Linked DNA regions of Homo sapiens: all the other regions are linked to region 4. Evidence: promoter capture Hi-C in 16 types of primary human blood cells and fetal thymus (Javierre and others, 2016). All regions are on one chromosome and are shown on one strand. The core of a region is centred on a gene start or on the middle of the fragment in contact, and the rest is flanking DNA. Distances in the headings are between cores, read along the strand shown.

What was found. Contacts are between HindIII fragments. The CHiCAGO score rates a contact against its expected background, and 5 or more counts as called.
Region 1: a contact is called between a fragment that was not itself captured here and the fragment with the promoter of WNT5A in region 4, in 1 of 17 cell types (fetal thymus). The highest score is 5.4, in fetal thymus.
Region 2: a contact is called between a fragment that was not itself captured here and the fragment with the promoter of WNT5A in region 4, in 2 of 17 cell types (fetal thymus and M2 macrophages). The highest score is 9.5, in fetal thymus.
Region 3: a fragment that was not itself captured here is called in contact with the fragment with the promoter of WNT5A in region 4 in 1 of 17 cell types (fetal thymus); the score reaches 7.2 in fetal thymus.

What each region holds. Positions count from the first base shown.
Region 1 is chr3:55,676,387-55,679,086 of GRCh38, reverse strand. All of the region lies in intron 17 of ERC2 (ELKS/RAB6-interacting/CAST family member 2), which reads left to right. Among named protein-coding and RNA genes, the nearest start is that of ERC2-IT1, 18 kb to the right of the region's middle. The HindIII fragment of the contact is 1,240 bases long and covers 812-2,051 here.
Region 2 is chr3:55,707,311-55,710,010 of GRCh38, reverse strand. All of the region lies in intron 15 of ERC2 (ELKS/RAB6-interacting/CAST family member 2), which reads left to right. Among named protein-coding and RNA genes, the nearest start is that of ERC2-IT1, 49 kb to the right of the region's middle. The HindIII fragment of the contact is 1,592 bases long and covers 551-2,142 here.
Region 3 is chr3:55,659,689-55,662,703 of GRCh38, reverse strand. The region is part of intron 17 of ERC2 (ELKS/RAB6-interacting/CAST family member 2); the gene reads left to right. Among named protein-coding and RNA genes, the nearest start is that of ERC2-IT1, 1.7 kb to the right of the region's middle. The HindIII fragment of the contact is 4,168 bases long and covers 1-3,015 here.
Region 4 is chr3:55,485,841-55,488,725 of GRCh38, reverse strand. It overlaps WNT5A (Wnt family member 5A), which reads left to right and starts at 1,420. Exons shown (of 5, transcript NM_003392.7): 1 at 1,420-1,746. The coding sequence starts at 1,741. WNT5A-AS1 (WNT5A antisense RNA 1) reads right to left here and starts at 1,108. Exons shown (of 2, transcript NR_046656.1): 1 at 847-1,108; 2 at 418-736. The HindIII fragment of the contact is 5,010 bases long and covers 1-2,742 here.

The sequences.
Region 1 (2,700 bases), core at 182-2,681, 190 kb before region 4:
TTTAAGCAGGGACATGACATGATTTGATTTATGTTGTAGAACAACCCTGGCTGCTGTGTAGAGGATGAATTGTCGTGGCAGGAAGAGCAGAAGTAGAGGCTGTTCCATGATCTGTGAGAGAATTGATGGCACTGACCCAGGGCAGCAGTAGTGGAGATGCAGACAAGTGGATAAATTGGAGATAAGACTAGGAAGGTGAAGCCAGGAGGACTTGGATGGGGAGGTAAGACAAAGGACAAAATTGAGAATGCCTCCAGATTTCTACCTTGGGTGTCAAAGCTGGAGCAGGCCATTATTGGTGGTGGTGGGGGCACTGAGAGGGAACTCAGAGTTCTGGTTTCCCCAGATGTCCAGTCGCTCTGGCCAAGGGAAGGGCAGGCTTTTGACCTTGGCTGTTTTCCATGTTCCTGCATATCAGCAGGGGAATCTCTGGCCTCTTATTGCAGTAATGTGCAGGCTGACAAGTTTAAAGCACGTCTGAAGTCTAACTTCAAGAGTGGGTGGCTCCTCCAACTCTTGAAGAAAAGGAGATTGCAAAGCAAAATCAGTAGTTATAGAATAAGAAGACATGTAAGGGGTAGCAATCTGTGGAAAAACAAAAACCCCAGAGTTGTAGGAGGTTGAAAGGGACCTAGGGACTAGAGGGACCTAGAGAGAAGGAAGTTGCCATTGGCTCTTGTAGTTCCCCCTGAGATCTCCAGGGATCAAGAATTCTGTCAGTTAAGGGGTACAACATGAGATTTTGATTGCTCTTGATAATTGACTTCTCATCTTGAAATTCTAAGTATATTATTTTTCTGCAGAAGAAGCTTTCAATAATCTCTTTTCAGGAGTTAATATGAGAACTAACCAGAAGTAGCTACGAGGTGTTTTAGAACCACCATGACAATGTCTCTGCCTACTTCCAATTGCAAAATCGATTCCTGGGCAAAGTAAGATGTTTTTGCTTTATCTCTGTCCCCACTTCCTCCTTTTATTTTGCTCTTCTACTCCTCTGGAAGGTGTCTGTATATTTATATCTTCTATTCAGGCTTACAAAGCTGCTGTTTAGAGCTTCAACTTGAATATCCTATTCACAGTCTTTGCAATTAGTAATTTATTCAAAAAATATTTCTTCATCTTAGTACTGGAGATGTACTGGATATACATCTCAGTACTGAGTCAAGGTAGTGAACAAAGTGTGATTCCTACCCTCGAGGAGCTTAGAGTAGTACATAGATTCTCAAGCAGGCGTCCATAAGCCCTGGAGGCTCTGCAAATCCCCTGACATGGTTAATAGGCTTCAATGTGGATGTATGCACATCCCCACAAAGAGAGTATTTATTTATGTTCCTCAGCAGATAGAGGGGCCAGTGACTCAGAAAAAGTGAAGAAGACCCTCATCTATGGTGGGGTGGCTAACAGTGTGGTCTCTGGATTCAGATAGACCTAGGTTTGGATGATCGTGGGTAAGTCACCTTCCGTCTCTCCCCTCCATTTTCTCTTTGAGGAAGGTTGTGACACCCCCAGGGCTGTGATGAGCTGAGTAAGATGCCAAGTCATGCCTGGTGCACAGTGAGTATTCAACCCTGGGTAGAATATCAGTATATCACTATTATTGTTACTTCTGGGCTCAGGAAAGTGTACTGTATCCATAAACAGAGGAAAGTGGTTGATACTGGGGTTGTTGAATTTGGGAGGTAAAAGAAAAGGCAAAAGAAAGGTAATCTATTCCTATGGCCATAGCTACACCCAAGCCACCTACATAGCAGGCCTTACTTAAAGCATGTTTACCCTATAAACATACCCTCTCCAGTTACCTTTGATTTTTATAACACTTGGGTATAGCAAAGGAAAGTTTGATTGTTGGAGAGTATGAATTAGTCCCTGTTTATAGCAGAGGGTTTCTTTCGGCTTAAAGAAAAATCTAATGAGTAACATGAAAGCCAATGAATATTTAACAAATAATTAATTGCGAGCTAATGAATTGGAAGAGAGAAAAGGATAATAATGTCTCAGTCCACCTCTTTCTGCTCTCAAGGGTGATGGACTTGGGGGCCAAGGTAGAAGCTTTTAAGGAGATTGGAGGGCAGTAAATAAGTTCTTGTGGGTTTCTCTGGAGCTCATAAGGGTTACCTGGCAGAGCAATGCATGTTGGCTTAGATATGACCACACTCTGAGGACCTGAAATCTGGCTGAGAAATCATAAACAAACAGTGGTGATAAATTACCACTGGGCCAGAGGCGGGAGGCGTCTAGCAGAGTGTTGTTACATTACATTACATCCTTCCTGTGCCAGGGCTGGCGCACAGGGAGCATGCTGGCTCTCCCACCCTTTTGTCATTTGCTTTAGAGTATGCTGTTGGTCTGGTCTTGTTTAACCTCTTTATTAATGATCTGTAAAGGGGAGAAAAGAGCATGTGAAGGAAAGTCACAGATGACACTAATTTGGAAGGTGTTGGAAACACTAGTTGAGGTCAGAGAAATCACACAAATGGCCTGAAGAAGGTTAGGAACATGGAGGGAAAATAACAAATCTTGGAGAAGTCCAGACACTCACATCTGGTGAAAATTAATCTGAGACACAGATACCAATGGGTGGGAGGGATATGAAAAGCTGAATGCTAAAATAATAATAATAATAATAATAATAATAATAATAATAAGCAGCTCAGTAAACGTCAGCGAAACCAGCCAGCCCAAAAGTCTGCTATGGGTGAG
Region 2 (2,700 bases), core at 97-2,596, 220 kb before region 4:
TTCTCTTCCCATTTGTTTTTCAACTGATTGGAAAACTGCTAATGAGCATGTTTACATTTTCTCCAGTTGTCTCACCCAAGCGTGAGACCAGCTGGGGAGAGGGATTTGTTCCCCCTCCAAGGGCCTGGCTGCCTCTCCCTGTCTCGTTCTCCCTCCCAGCTGCCAAGCCTCTCCTGGCTGTCTCCACACCTCCTGGAGTCAAAACTGTGCTCGGTGCTGGCCAACACAGCCCCACCACATGTTTTGCATGGCTCACCCCATCCCTTCTCTCCCCCTTTGGGGGGTCATTTGTTTTGTTTTGAAGGAGGTGAGGTGCTGGGAGGTTTATGCCCTTCCATTCTGCTTTAGAACTGGGAGCAGGCCCAGATTGCATTTGCTTCCACTTCTGCGCGAAGGTCAAAGCCCTTGAAGGAGAGCGTCCTTCCGTCCTCCCACAGTTCTCAGGACATGTTCATTCTCTCTGGGCTGACCTGAGTTTCTAGTCTCCTCTGCTTGCCCAGTCCGTTCTCCTTTGCTTTACCCTTCCCTTCTGATGGTGGTGTCTCAAGCTTCAGACATTTTGAGGATTACCTTCACAGTGTTTTCCACATCCTAAGACATAATTTCTATGAAACCTCTCTTTGATGTGCTTGTTATAATTTATTTTAATATATTTTAGAGTAAATATGTAACTGTTGAGCAGTTCATTTACTCCCTGTGAATTATCTTGCCTCCAAGGGTATGTGAACCCCTCTCTTCATAGCCCTGTTTAAGACTCTCACGGCCTCTTTCGGAGGGCGCTGCTGGCTTTTACTCAACCTCACATTCTCCTAGAATCTCACATGCTCCTAGAGTTCTACTAGAATGTTCACGCTCCAGTTTCTAGCCTATTGGCCAATTCTGTTAGGCGATACCCCGAGGCTGTTTTGCCCATTCATTAGTTAGGGAGCTGTTTTGATGATGCCAGTTCTCCCTAAACCAGTGATAATAAATATTTGTTGGATTATGAATGGAATGAAAATGTTGTCTTCACTTGTCAGCACAATTCTAGAGTCCGAATCTCAATACCTGCAAACACTGTCTTTCCTCTCTCCTTCCTTTCTTTTTCTCTCTTCTCTTGTCTTCTCTTCCCTCTCTTCTCCTTACCTCTCCTCTTCTCTCTCTCTCTCCTCTTTCTCTTCCCTCCCTCACTCTCTCCCTCCTTTCTTCCTTCCTTTATTTATTCCCAGTCTCCTTCATTCTCTCCCACCTTTCTTCTTCCACTCCTCCATTTATTTATTTATTTATTTATTTTTGTCTTTTTACCTTTGGGTTAAAAAATTAGGATTTTATTTGGAGTTCACTTTCTAAAGAAACTCCTAACAGACCATGCACAGAATGTTTCCACACTGTAGTAGAAGAGTCTGGAGTTTTTTTCAGAGACCCTCTATTGACTTTCTGAGTTGAAACAGTTTAGACTCCACATAAAATATGTGTTGTTTACCCAGGCTCTTCATGCTCTGCATACTGTTACAGTCCTTGAAGAGCTTGTCAGTGACAAGTAAGATAAATGAATGAAGAGGACTTTACAAGTGTTTAAAAGCTAAGTATAGCATGTGCTGCCCACGACTTAATTAAACAGACCTGCGCTTAACTAAGTAACTTTGTGGTGGAAACATCTAGGGCCTTTCCCTTCCCCCAGACTCTGCCACTAGCAATGGTGCTCAGGATGTTAGAAATTCCTTGGTTGTCTGGAGTTGCTAATGTGTTAGCCTAGCTGTTAGCTGTCTCATTGGTTGAAGCATTAAACGCTAGTGTGGACTGTGCATAATGACTTTTGAATTTATATTAGGGGATGGTCAGTAACATGGACTTCTTTGGGGCTCCATTAAGATTTTCTAATGTGTCTGAGTTCCATCGTTTTCAGAGGGAATTTTAAAATCAAAAGTGAGCTGCTTTTCTTTAAAGCTATGATTGGAGTGGGTGATCAGAGCCCATTCCCAGGTCAGTCTTGATTTGTTTATGAAGGGGCTGGTCCTTAAGGATCTGAGCAGTGGGATGCACTGGTTACAAAGGAGGCTGCACAGTCAGAGCCTCAGATCTACCAGTTATTTGAGCTCTGATTAGTTGCTTAATCCCTAAGCCTCATCTTCTTCATCTGTAAAGTGGGAGTAATAAGAAGCTTCAACCAAGGCAAATATTCAGGGCATGTGCAACTGTGTCACTCTTGGTTCTCATGGGTTTCTGCATCTGTCATAGCAGCTATTAAAGATTTTAAATACAATCCCCACCCCTGCCTGCATCGCAGGGTTGATGTCAGACTGACTTAATGAGATGATGCCAACACAGTGTTGTTCACACAGCAAGGGCCAAGCAGGCATTGGTTATTATTTTTTATGTTAACAGGAGGCTCCATCTCACAATGTCGGTTAGGATCCTAACATTATGAGCAGAGCACATAGAACTCTTTCTTTATAAATAATCCTTCCTCATGGGCTGTACTGGCTGACAGTAGAACAGGGGAGATGCTGCTTCTGGCTACAGTCACTGTCCATAACCCTTCAGGGGATTCCCCAGGTTCCTAAGGTGGCAGCAGAAAGCAATGTTTTTTTTTGAGACAAGATCTCATTCTGTTGCCTAGGCTGGAGTGCATTGGCATGATCACAGCTTATTGCAGCCTCAACCTTCTGTGCTCAGGTGATCCTCCCACTTCAGCCTCCCAAGTAGCTGGGACTACAGGCA
Region 3 (3,015 bases), core at 259-2,758, 170 kb before region 4:
TTCTTTAAAATAATCTACATTCATGACTCAATTCTCATTATAAAATATTTAAGCTATATTGAAGTAGACAACTTAAAACCTGAATGTCTCCTTCACTCTGTCCCCCAACTCTACACTTCTCCCCAGAAGCAATAGACCCCAATTAATTGGTAGATATGTCCTTTGTCTGCATTTACAAATAATGCACACATAATTCATTTAACACAAATTAGATTATATTATTCAGCTTCTTCTGTGATTTGCATTTTTCACTTAACAGTATGTCTTGGTAAACTTTCCGTTTCAATATATATAGACCTACCTTATTTTCTAATAGCGACAGAAGTATTTCATGGAATTCCCCTGCCAAGGTTTATTTTAGCCACTCACAGTTAATGGGCATTTAGATAGTTTGCCATGTTTTGCTATCACAAACAAGACTGCAGTAAATAATTTTGTGTATATGCCTTTGGGCGTATGTGCAAGTATTTCTGCACAATAGAGACCCAGAATTTTAATTTTCTACATGAAATAAATCTGATAAGCTGATAAGAACAGGATTGGTTGCCAATTGGCAAATACATTCCAATCTGAGTCTTGAGTTTCCCAGCCCACGCTGTCCTGTTTGTGTTAATGCAGGATTGCCCCCAAGAGTCCTCCCTGTTCAGACCCTGCTGGCTGACAGTTTGAAATCTGGAGTTCAGCTTCATATATAAAAACCTTAGCTTTGCAATATTTAAATTCTTAAATACCCTAAAATGGTATGGACTTTATTAAACAGAAAGTGAAAAAGGGAAAATCTAAGGGAATTTCCCTGATAAATGGATTGAAAAGTCCATATTTAACAAAGCATTAGTCTCCCAGGAAAGGAGGTGGGCCCACTTTTTTTTTTTAAATAACCTTTTCACGTTTTTCTTCTCAGCTAAGCCAACTCCACAAATAGCCCAAACTAAACACGTAATGACTGTGCTGTGTTGAGATGTGTTTTGTTTCAGATTTTAAAATGCAGCAAATAAGATGTGATAGGCAGAATCTAAAGATGCCTTTCCAAGATGCCCATGCTTTATTCAAACACTAACCAGGTACTGGACGAAGGGACTTTGCAGCTTATCTTAAAATAGAGAGAGTATCCTGGATTATGTAAACGGACCCAATGTCATGACATTAGCCCTTAAAAGTCGAGAAAGAAAGTCTAAGAGTCAGAGTGGTGCAGTGGAAGAGGGAAGGGGAGAGATTAGGCAGCAGAAGAGGCAGAGAGGTCCCAAGGGGGAGGAGAGGAGAGACGAGGCTGTGATAAAAGGAAAGGGGCTATGAGCCAGGGATTGCAGGTGGCCTCTAGAAGCTGAGAATGATGCTTAGCCAACTGCCAGCCAGGAAAGTCCCACAACCAGACGGAGCTGAATTCTGCCAGTGACCTGAATGAGCTGGAAAGTAAATTCAGCCTCAGAGCTGCAAAAAAGATTGCAGCCCTGTTGACACCTGGTGATTTTGGCCTCATGAAACTCAGCAGAGAATGAACTGAGCCGTGTTGTGCCAAAATTCTGACCTACGGAACTGTGAGATAATAAATAGATATTTTTTAAAGTCACTAAGTGTGTGGTAATGTGTTAGGATAGCAGTAGAAAACTAATGCACAGACGAGTTGAACCAACATCTGTGTGTGAGACTTGGCCCACAGGACAAGCTGGTGCATTTTTTACTTTCTAGCAACTGGAGCAGGGTAAGGGCCCAATGTTATAATATGAAGAAGACCAGCTTGCATTTTCTAGGTGCTTACCTCATTTTAGGTGCTGTGCACGGTACTTTATGTGCATTTCTTACCTTGTTCTTCACAACAGCCCTACAAGGATTTATGCTTTTATTGTTATTATCCCTGTTTTATAGGTGAGGGACCTGATTGAGGCTCACAGAGGTTAGCTACCTGGGCAGGTGTCACATGGCTTATTAATGGCAGGGCTGGGACTCAAACCCATGTCTGTGGGACATCATACCCAAGTCTGTGCACATAAGTGCTGTACTTCACAGTGCACCACGACCCCAATTAAATATGAAGCTAATATGTTTCCATATACAAAATTGCTGATATTTAAACTCCTGCTAAACACTCACAACTAAGAATGCCTTTCATCACATAAAGCCCTTTAACCTTGTTTTAATGCCCTTGGAATACTACACCACTAGGTGCTGAGCAAGGAGAAAAAAAATCAAATTTGGATGGTCAAGGAAATAGGAGACTCCCACGCCACCCCCGCCCCACCCCCCAGGTTCTGCAAGCCAAAGCTCAGAGCACACTCTTACATTTCTCTTCAAATCCTTGGAGGTCTCACTTGCTCTAGATTGTGTCAAAGATTGTGCCCCTTCCCTGCACCAGGCACTCAATTCCAGGGGTGGAAGTTGTGATGGAGACATTTTTATAACTTGGACATAAAGATCAGGAGCCAAAAGGAATATCAGGTGGAACAAATGCTATTGCTTACATTTTATCTGGAGGTGGGGGTGCGGGTTGATGTGCCAATTTGCTCTCAGTTGCATGTACAGAAATTGTGACCTCAAATTCAGCCAATGGAAAGTCTGAGTATGAACATTCACATTGTTCAGACATTTAACAAATATGAACTGAGCTTCCATAATGTGATGGGGTTTGCATGAGAAGCTAATGATGCAGTAATGAATAAGGTGAGTTCCATACTCATAGATCTTCCAGGCTCCATTACTCCAGGCTAATGAAGGAAGCACAGAAAAGCAAGCAATTTCAGGATAGTATAATAAGTGCTGTAGTGGAGGAGGCACTAGATGCCTAGAGCAAATATGGGAGAGACGCCATACCGAGATTCAGAAGCCAGAAGTAGTGACCCTTGAGCTGTGGCCTCACGGATAAGTAGGAGTTGGCCAGGTACAGAGGCGGCAGAGGAGAATAGCCCAGCCCCAGGGGATGTCATGATGTAGATCTGATCTGGGAGCCTACCTATGTCCATAAATACATCTGGAGTATAGGAGGCAAACAGGCTATCGGTTGAGACTGAGGTCAGAAAGCCT
Region 4 (2,885 bases), core at 171-2,670:
AGCGCAGACAACCAGGCGGCAGGCAGGCAGCGGCTGCGGAGTGGACCTCTCTCTTTCAGCAGATGCCGCGGGGGATGGGGAACTTAGAGAAGGGGAGACAAGGAGAGTGTACCCCGCCTCCCGGCACCCCAGCCCGTAGTACGGCTTTAAAATCCTGCAGAGTTTGTCATAGGCCGGCCTCACCACGCATGCGCATAGCAAAGTTGAGTTTTTTCTTTCTTCCCCCCCCTTCCCTCTCTCTTTCCAGCCGCCCCTAGTTCTGAAACTTTAAAGAACTTTTTTCTTTCTTTCTTTCTTTCTTTTTTTTTTTTTCTTCCTTCTGAGAACACCAGGGGAAAGAGGAGTCTGGAGAGAGGGAGGGAGAGAGTAAGGCAGTTGGCCAGAAGGGCTGGGGGGTGGGAGGGGGGGACGCGTCCCCGCGGTCGGTCAGTCTGTTTGCGGGGCACAGGATCGCGTGGAAATCTGCTGCGAGCTCCACGGAGCCGCCTCCGCCGCCCAGAGCCGGGGTCCGTGCGGCAGCTGCCCAGCGAGCCCTTCCGCCGCCGCCGTTGTGCCCGGGACCGCCCGCCTCCCGCCGGCCCGCTCTCCCGCCCCTCGGACCCGGGCGCCAAACGAGGAGGTGGGCAGCTTCGCCGGCCATGGACCGCCGGAGCTGAGTCGCCGCCGCGGAGCTCCGAGCTCTCGCCCTTCCCCAGCCTCGCGCCCGCGGTGCACTCGCTGCTCTTCGCCCTTCGCCCTGGAAAAACGGGGAAAAGAGAGATCAACCCGAAGAGAGAAAGAACGGGATACGTGGTGGGGGGGGGGAGCCCGCGTCTCCCCTGGGTTAGTCGCACCCCTCCAGCTCACCGCACAGCAATAAGTTCCGGGGCGACTTTCACCTATTTTGCTCCCCGTTTTTGCCGAACCCTAAAATGAAAGGACACAATTTGGGGCTGACTCTTGCAGCTCAGATGGCGACTTGTGCGTTTTCAGCGGCATCTCCCGGAGAAAAAGCCATGCGCGCCTGATTGTTCTGTGGCCCCAAAGCTGCAGCGGGGGTGTGTGTGTTGGGGTGTGTGTCTGTGTGTGTACAGAGACGTCCACACTAACTCGCGGCTGCAGGATCAGCGTCTGGAAGCAGACGTTTCGGCTACAGACCCAGAGAGGAGGAGCTGGAGATCAGGAGGCGTGAGCCGCCAAGAGTTTGCAGAATCTGTGGTGTGAATGAACTGGGGGCACCTGGGCGCACAGATCGCCCCCCTTCCCCCGCCCCGGGCCACAGTTGAGTAGTGGTACATTTTTTTCACCCTCTTGTGAAGAATTTCTTTTTATTATTATTTGTCGTAAGGTCTTTTGCACAATCACGCCCACATTTGGGGTTGGAAAGCCCTAATTACCGCCGTCGCTGATGGACGTTGGAAACGGAGCGCCTCTCCGTGGAACAGTTGCCTGCGCGCCCTCGCCGGACCGGCGGCTCCCTAGTTGCGCCCCGACCAGGCCCTGCCCTTGCTGCCGGCTCGCGCGCGTCCGCGCCCCCTCCATTCCTGGGCGCATCCCAGCTCTGCCCCAACTCGGGAGTCCAGGCCCGGGCGCCAGTGCCCGCTTCAGCTCCGGTTCACTGCGCCCGCCGGACGCGCGCCGGAGGACTCCGCAGCCCTGCTCCTGACCGTCCCCCCAGGCTTAACCCGGTCGCTCCGCTCGGATTCCTCGGCTGCGCTCGCTCGGGTGGCGACTTCCTCCCCGCGCCCCCTCCCCCTCGCCATGAAGGTAGGTGTTCAGTGCGCTGCCACTTTTTTTCTTTACTTCCCCCCACCCCCTGTTGGAAGTTAACTGAGTTCCCTTCGCCTCTTCCTATCCCTCCATTTCCCCAACCGCCTGAAGAAGCTGGAACTCCAGCGTCGCTGGCAGGAACCCCTACCCCTTCGCCCTCCACGCCGGGCGCACTGCCTCAGTGTCCCAGGAGATCACTTCTGGTCGCACCACCCGTTCTGCAAACAATTTTGATTTTTGAGAAAAAGTGGGGAAGAGCGATAGTAGACAAACTGAGTGCGGTTCACTGACGACTTTCCTTTTGCTCTGAGAACATCGAGTGTAATTTACTATGTATATTTCAGTAACAGGATAATGATTCAATTCAACAAATATTTACCAAGCGCCCACTGCGCGGGCACCGGGACGGTGTGTGGCCGGGGCTCGGGATGGGGAAAGGGACTCCTTGGTTGAGAGAACCCGCAGAGGAACTAGGGGCCAACTACTCCAGAGCGGCGTACACCTTCCCCGACACCCCCCCGCACCGACGGAGGCCAGATTGTAGGCTTGCCTTGGCCGAGTAACTCGAGCGCTTCAGGCCCCTTTGCCTTTAAGAGTGCCTGGCGGGGGGCCAGCGCGCACCCCGGCGCGGGGAGCGGGGTCGCGTTATTAGCATTATTAGCCGCCACTGGGTGAGCTCAGGCACTTTGCAGCAGTGGTGGGGGCGGGGAGTTGTGGTGGTAGTGGCTGTAATCCCGTACTCCGGGACAGCGCTCCCCGGCCCCCTGAGCGGAGTCCGCCTTGTCCTTTAGAAAACACTTGGGCCTCCGCTTTGGGAGAGCAGGCGGGGGCCAGTTTGCGAACTCTTGTTTGTTTTAATTGTCAGTTGTATGTTAAAGCCGAATCACACACTCCGAGGGTCACTGAGAGTTCACTTTTACGAAAAGTTAACGTTTCTTCCTGCAACATAAGTTTTTATTTTCTAAACAATTTTTCTTATCTGTCCTCCAAGCTTCGATTCCTATTTCCATTTTTCTGGTCTTTCCCATTTTAAGTTTCTTAGAAAATAAGGTTAGAATTGAAATTAAGATGTTTCCTGGAAGCAAATAACCCCTCTTCCCCCCAAAAAGTTAAAAAAAACAACAACAAAAAACTTC